2 separate regions of the Homo sapiens genome follow, and region 1 is linked to region 2. The links are contacts of gene promoters, found by promoter capture Hi-C in blood cells and fetal thymus (Javierre and others, 2016). All regions are on one chromosome and are shown on one strand. Each heading gives the region's core, a stretch centred on a gene start or on the middle of the fragment in contact. The rest is flanking DNA. Distances are from core to core; before and after follow the strand shown.

The links. Contacts are between HindIII fragments. The CHiCAGO score rates a contact against its expected background, and 5 or more counts as called.
Region 1: a fragment that was not itself captured here is called in contact with the fragment with the promoter of TMEM184A in region 2 in 1 of 17 cell types (monocytes); the score reaches 5.1 in monocytes.

What each region holds. Positions count from the first base shown.
Region 1 is chr7:2,567,161-2,570,819 of GRCh38, forward strand. IQCE (IQ motif containing E) reads left to right here. Exons shown (of 22, transcript NM_152558.5): 2 at 1-3; 3 at 1,794-1,839. Among named protein-coding and RNA genes, the nearest start is that of IQCE, 10 kb to the left of the region's middle. RefSeq lists enhancers at 1-285, 102-271, 286-887. The HindIII fragment of the contact is 755 bases long and covers 1,053-1,807 here.
Region 2 is chr7:1,554,412-1,558,075 of GRCh38, forward strand. TMEM184A (transmembrane protein 184A) reads right to left here and starts at 1,794. Exons shown (of 9, transcript NM_001097620.2): 1 at 1,703-1,794; 2 at 855-1,073. The coding sequence starts at 1,073. RefSeq lists silencers at 320-502, 1,870-1,939, 1,980-2,069 and enhancers at 612-1,412, 982-1,276, 1,413-2,212. The HindIII fragment of the contact is 30,451 bases long and covers 1-3,664 here.

The DNA.
Region 1 (3,659 bases), core at 180-2,679, 1.0 Mb after region 2:
ACGGTGAGTGCCGCTGGGTGTCAGCCGTGCGACCTCGGGCTGGTTGCGCTGCCCTTGCAGACTGCACTCGGAAGCGTAAAATAGGCCGTTCTCCACAATACTGTGTCGAGAGCTGGAATGCATATTCCGAATGCTCCTTGGTGTTTGAAAAGTTTCCAGCCCTTAGGTTTAAATACCTGTGGTGATAACTTTAAAACTTTTATCTGGACGTGAATCCTGAGCAGGGCTCATGTGAGACAGATTGCTAGTCCCTGGCCTGCAGCTGGTTTTGCCCTGCACCCCACGCCCTCATCCTGACACTTGAGGGGAGGAGGAGAGCCCCTGCTAATGCCGTCGGAAGGACCCGATGGGAGAAAGCAGACCTGGGCAGCCGCCATCCCAAGCTGAACTGCTGCCTGGCCTCCCAGCCCGGAAAGGAGAGGGGCAGGAGTGGTGTCCGATGGCCCAGTGGCACACTATGGCCCCGGACTGGGCTTTGGGTTTGTTTGGCAAGCTGTGCTGGGTAGAAAAGGAAGTGTGCCAATTGCTCTTCTCGTGTATGAGCGAAAAAAGCTTTTCTTACTGGAGACGCAGATCTAGCAAACCTGCAGCCAGCAGAACGAACCCGGCACCAGCAGATCTCAATTCCACGTTTGCTCTGTGGACTCAAGGGGGAGCCTCAGCTCCACTGTCTCCCTCCAGGGACCTCTGTTCGCAAAGTTAAGGATTTTCCCTCCATGTCACAGAGGGCAGGGGATGCTCCTCTGATGTTCCCCGGAGGAGGAGGGATCCAAACCAAGCCCCAGGGAAAATTCCCCCCGCGCAGAACTTGGGGCTCAATGTTTCTGCTGGAGGGGAAGTGAGGAGACCTGGCCGCGGTAGCCTTATCTGCTCGGTCTAGTGCAAGGTGATGAGGAAGTTAAGGTTGGAAGCATGGCAGCATCTTCCCCAGGCCACGGCACGACGGGTTGTGTGTCTCTAATGCAAAATCCAAAATGCTCCAAAAATGGAAACTTTTTGAGCACCCTCATGAGGCCACAAGTGGGAAATTCCACCCTTAAGTACTTCACACAAGCTTTGTTTCATGCACAAAGTTATTAAAAACACAATATAAAATTACCATTGCACTATGGGTATAATGTATATATGAAACATAAATGAATTTTGTGTTTAGACTTGGGTCCCATCCCCAAGATACCTCATTATATGGATGCAAATATTCCCAAATCAGAAACACTCTTGGTCCCAGGCATCTCGGATATGGGACACTCACCCCGTAGTAAGCAGTGGAACCAGATCTGGACCCCGTTCTGTGAGATCTGGACCCCATTGGGTGTTTGGCATCGTGGTTGTCACAGGAGACCACCTTCCAGACAGGGTCTCCCTTTGCTCGGCTTTCTTCCATAGTGGGCTTTGCAGTTGACTTATGTGCAGGGATTCATCTGACCACCTCCACCTGAGTGGACAGAGGTGCGCTGGGCTCCCAGGCTGGCTGTGCGGGCGGTTTGGGTGGGGGCAGATCCGCCATTTGTGTGGGACCCTCAGTCTGAACGTCAGGAGCCCGGGCCCGATGGTTTTCTGTAATTGGAACTTGTGCTCTGAGAGCCCAGCCCTGAGCACTGACGTGAGTGCATTTTTGTGGGGTCTGCATCGGGCCCTGCGTGTCCTGTTCCTGGACCCTCCTTACGTCCCCGTAAGCTCACGTCCTCTTGCTGCTCTTACACGACCCCTGACCCTTTCTGAACATGGTAGGGTCTTGTGATGCACCACTGTGGGAGCTCAGCAAGCCTTATGCCATTTCTTCTTTCTTTCAGAAAGCAAAAAGGAAAGCTTTCCACAAACCTCCACCCACATCGCCAAGTAAGTATGACGAGGCCTGCCTTCCCTCTCACGCCGACGTTCCCTGGTGTCCTGGAGAGAATGAAGGGTATTTGCTTTGTACATTTAGGTAGCTGAGACCTGACGCCTCAGCCAGTTGGCCCCATTCCCACTGGGGTCTCCCAGTTCGCGCTGGAGTCTCCCCCTTTCATGTTGGGGTTCATGCTGGGGTCTCAGGAGCACGTGGAGTCCCTGTTGGTGCCAGAGTGACGAGCCCTTTCTCAGGGCTGAGGCTGCCACCAACTCCCCAGTCTCCCCCGACAGTGCCTCTAGGCCTTTTGTTTTCTTTTTCTTGCTTTCTCAAAGGCTTACCTCTTCTGAATGCTGCCAGAGTTAAAGGATTTTTGACCTGGGATTTGTTCCTGAGAGTCGAAGTTACTGAGAAGGTGTAGTTGGTGGGACGGGTGGCAAGTTCACCTTTTTCCCCTTTGGATCATCCTGGGCTTGTTTTGCTGCCAGGGTTCTATTCTTCCTCACCCTCAGCAGGAGGAGGGCAGCATTTGCCACCCTGCTTGTCCAGGAGGGTGCCGCGGAGGTGGGGTTAGTCCAGGTGGCCCCGAGGCCCCTCTGTCTCTAATGCCGCTCTCGTGTACAGCAGCCCGTGTGCCGACCTTGTGCGTACGAATGTGTTCGTGACCCTGTAAATCCTAGGCCGGCATCCTGTGCTACCCCAAAGCCTGTGGCCTTCCCTGGCTGTGCCATCTGTAGATGTGTGTCTATTTTATATACGCGTATCATATATTTCAAAGGTTCAGTCAAGTATATGACGCACTCAGAGAATATAAACAAACTTTGCTACTAGCCCAAGGAAAACATAATTAGGTAAATCCCTGCACAGAAAAGAATGCATGTTATATGTTACAAATCAATATAAACACTAGAAGGAAATCACCTAGCAATTTGGATTTTTGATGTCCTTTCTCTCCTTCCATGGAGAAAATTGAGAATTGATATAAAGTAAAAGGCCAGGACCGGGGGTGCCTCCTGACTCACACTCGGGACCTGTTTTTCTCCGGGTTTCTAGTTTCGTGAGTGTAGGGACCATGTCTGTCCTGTTCACTCAGCAAGTGTTTTTCTCCAAGGCCTGGTCAACCTGCTTGTAGGTTTGCAGCTCCCACCACGTTCCGAGGCTTTTCATCGTCCTGGTCACTCTGCCAGGAGGGCGAGGCAGGCGATGATGTTTTCCTGCTTTCCGAGTTTGTCGTTTTCCGGGCAGTATCAAACGCTGGCATCTCTCCACCACCCTGTCTCCGTCCTCTCTTCTTCCCTCCCCGCTTTTATCCCCGCTTTCATGCTTTCCTGAGGAACCCTTCCTACTCGCCGATAAGCCCACACACTCTTAGGAGGGAAATGTAATGTGTAGGGCTTTTTTCTGCTCACTCATTTACTTGTATAAATGACAACTTAAATCTTTACGTTTTGGAAGAATTTGAGACTATCTGGGAGGCCAGGTTCTGTGGTCCCGGGTAAGTGAAGATGCAGCAGGGTCCCTGCGTCTTTATTCCCTCATTCACAGTTACGGTGGCGAATTTCACATAAATTGTGAAACCGCGGGAAAAACTTAGAAACTTAAACATTTTGAACATATTAGACTTAAATTTTCAGACCCTACTGACATACATTTTGCAATTTAAGATATATAAGAATGTTTTAAGAGTGCCTTAGTTTTTGCATACGTTTATTATCTTTTTTATACTTAAAGAGGGAAAATCTCAGATAAAGAATTTTAAAACATTTCCCTTACTTTCATACAAAATCAAGAATGCCCTGAAACAGTAAGATTTTTCTCATTTATTTTAGAT
Region 2 (3,664 bases), core at 544-3,043:
CCTGGGCTCCCAGCACCCCCTGAAAGCCACCTCACCGCACTGGGGTCAAGGGCTCTGGACAAATCCCTGCAGCCGTGTGGCCCTCGCGGGCCTACACACGCACTCCCACCCCACCCCTGCGCACACCGCCCTGGCCTCTCTGTGTATCTGAGTCTCTCAGGAGGGTCCTGTCCCTGACTCCCTGCCCTCTCTGCCCAGCCCCTGCCCTCGGGCACCACTTCCTCCTTGCCCCTGCCTGGCCCTTCCTTGCCACAGCGCCTGGCCGCTTCTCTACCTGGGGGCTGTTCTGTTCCCACCTGGGGACTGCTCCGGGTCGGGGGCTGTGTGTGGCTTCGGGCTTGGGGAAGTTGCTTCTCGCCCATCTCCTGCACAGGAGTCCCGGTCCCTCTAACAAGCTGTGACCTTTGCTCCCCAGCTCCCTACAGAGCAAAGTCCAACCCCCTGCCAACCTCCCACCAGCCTTCTCCAGGGTGTCACGCCTCTGGAAGGAGAAGGCCCCTTCCCCTTTCCAGCTATGTGAGCCTGGGAAAGACCTCTGGTCTCTCTGAGACTCAGTCTTCTTGTCTGTGAAATGGGACCACACTGCAGACCTCAGTGAGCCGAGTGACGAGCCTGTGAAATAGCCAGGGGTGCCCGGTGGGCGCTCTGCCCTCAGCCTGGCAGAGATCTCCCCATTTTCAGGCCCAGCTCCCACATGCCACATCCTGGGGAAGCTCATCCCCTCCCCCGTGCCCTGGCCGATCCCACTTCTGACAGCGTCTATAGCAGCGGCACCCAGGGGGACCGGGCTGAGCCACGGCCACGTCCTGTGGAGACCAAGGTCCTGAAGGAGGCTCGGGGGCGGAAGGGCTTACCTGGTGGCAGGTGAGCACCAGGGCAGTCCACACGAAGATCCCCGAGACGCCTCGGGCCAGTGCGGAGGTGAGGAAGAGCCAGGGGGCCCCCTGGGAGCTGTTCCCCATGTGGTCCATCTGCGGCCCAGCTGGCACAGCCGGTGGGGGGCTGGGCTGCGGCCAGTTCGCTGACACCAGGGGGACGCCGGCTGTCTCCAGGATCCCTGAGACATTACTCATCTGCAGAGGGAGGGAGGACACACACCGGGAGGAGTGAGGGCAAAGGTACTGGCTCCCGGCAGCAGGAAGCAGCGGGGGAGGGAGGAGACAGTGAGACGGGAGCTGAGGCTGAGCCACCCACCAGGCCGCACCCCCCACACGGACACCAGCGCCAGGCCCGGCTCCCTCCCTGCTCCGAGCTCAGCCATCGAAGCTCACCCATCAACCACCTGCGACCTGAGGGTCCCACCTCAATTCCCCCTTGTAAAACCAGCTTCCAACTCCGAGTCTCAGGCTTGCAGGGAGCCTGCTTCTTAGGGGACAAAGACCGTCTTCCAGTGGGGCAGAAGAGGGGGAACCCCTGCCGCCCTGCCTGCCCGGGAGGGCTGGGGAGCGGGCGCAGACCAGCACTGCCTGCCCCGGCAGGAGGGGGTGTGCAGCCACCCTCATGGGAGGAGCCGGCCCTCACTGGCTCTGGGACCTGTCCACCCACCTGGGAGCCCGGCTTTGCTGGGGTTCTTGGCAGCCCTGGGTGCCTGTTCCATCTCCCACTAACCTGCTGGGGCCCTGAGTCCACCCTCTCCCACACTCGCAGCCCAGTCCAGCCTCCTCCTCTCCCTCTGGTCTGCGGTCACAGGGCCCAGCTCTACCTTTGCTGGCAGGAAGCACCTGGCCCAGTCCAGGGAGGCCTGGCCTCCAGGGAAGCCTAGCTGGTCATTCTCATGGCCACGTGGCCCCAACTGGAGGCCCCACTGTGGGTGCGGCAAGGCCAGGATCTGAAGGGCTGTGCCAGGCTGGGGCGGGGCGGCCAGTGCCTCACGTCCCCAGTGGCCCACCTGGGCCCCAGGCTGCAGGCCCGTCCCCTCCTGTCCCCTCCCACGGCTGACACCCTATCCTCCCGGTTGTTTGCTGGGTGGCAGCTGGCTCCCAGGAACCTGCTGGCCGCCTGGCGCCCTCACCTGCCTATGCCAGACGGCCAGGCAGCTGCCACCTGGTGGGGACACGTGGGAGAGGTCTGCGGCAGGCCAAGGAGGGCCGGGCTGCAGGAGGAGGGGTGGAGAGCTAATGGTACAGGGTTTCTCTGGGGGGTGACAGGAGTCCTGAAATGAGGTAGAGGCGGCAGGCACACAGCACTGTGGATATACTTACCGCCACCGAATCGTTCACTTAAACCTGGGTAAATTGATGTTATGTGAATTTCATCTGAATTAAAAAAAAAATCCACGCCCCAAGAGATGAGTTGAAAACATTTGTTTTCTGGGCCGGGCGTGGTGGCTCACGCCTGTCATCCCCACACTTTGGGAGGCCAAGGTGGGTGGATCACTTGAGGTCAGGAGTTCGAGACCAGCCTGGCCAACATGGTGAAACGCCGTCTCTACGAAATACGCAAAAATTAGCTAGGTGTGGCAGCGTGCACCTGTAATTCCAGATACTCAAGAGGCTGAGACAGGAGAATCGCTTGAACTCAGAAGGCGGAGGTTGCAGTAAGCTGAGATCACACCACTGCACTCCAGCCTGGGGACAGAGGGAGACTCTGTGTCCAAAAAAAAAAAAAAAAAAAAAAGGAAATATTTCTGGTTTTTGTGGATCAAGGCAGGAGAGGGGGAGTGACAGCCCAGTCCCTGGACCCTTTGGGGTCTGGCAAGGGGTTGCGGGGCCCTGAGGGTCCCTGTCACCCCCATGCAGAGGCCCCTGTGGAGAAAAAACTCACTCACCCCGGCTCCTGGGAGAGGGATGTGGGCCCTCAGCCCACCTCTTGTCCTGTTCTGGTTACGCTTGGGCTCATGCCGCTGGGGCCACCATTACCAAGTCCCGCTCCATGCCCGCAACGGATCCACACACTCCTTGTCCTTCATATCTCCTACCCTCCCACAGCCCTGAGCAACAGGGCTCAAGGGGTTGAGGCTGGAATGACTGGAGCCACTGTTCCCCTTTTATTTTTAATTAATTTATTTTTTGAGACGGAGCCTCGCTCTGTCGCCAGGCTGGAGTACAATGGCGCGATCTCGGCTCACTGCAACCTCCGCCTCCTGGGTTCAAGTGATTCTCCTGCCTCAGCCTCCCGAGTAGCTGGGATTACAGGCGCCCACCACCACACCTAGCTAATTTTTGTATTTTTAGTAAAGACGGGGTTTCACCACGTTGGCCAGGCTGGGCTTGAACTCCTGACCTCAGGTGATCTGCCCGCCTCAGCCTCCCAAAGTGCTGGGATTACAGGTTTGAGCCACCACGTCCGGCCTGTTCCCCTTTTAGAGATGGGAACGAGAGGCGCATCAACGCGTCCAGCATCCTTGAGGGGTCCGTGAGGGGCCCGGGCTGAGGCCCATCCTTCCCTGGGACACCCTGCCTGCTTTTCCCAACTCCTCCACTGACACTGTCCCTCCAGGGAGGCTCCCAGGTGGGGAACAAGCTCAGGAAGTCGTGCCCAGCTCTCAGGCCCGCCTTGCCTAACCTCCCCATCAGCGCCCACCCGGGCCCGGGCCCAGAGCCACAGCATGCACACCCTGGCTGGGCCCTCCTGGAGCCTGCCTGCTCCCCAGGCAGGGACCTTCTGGACCAACCGACCCTGCTCCCGGGTGACTCTGTCCTGCAGCCTCAGGCGTCACCTCTGG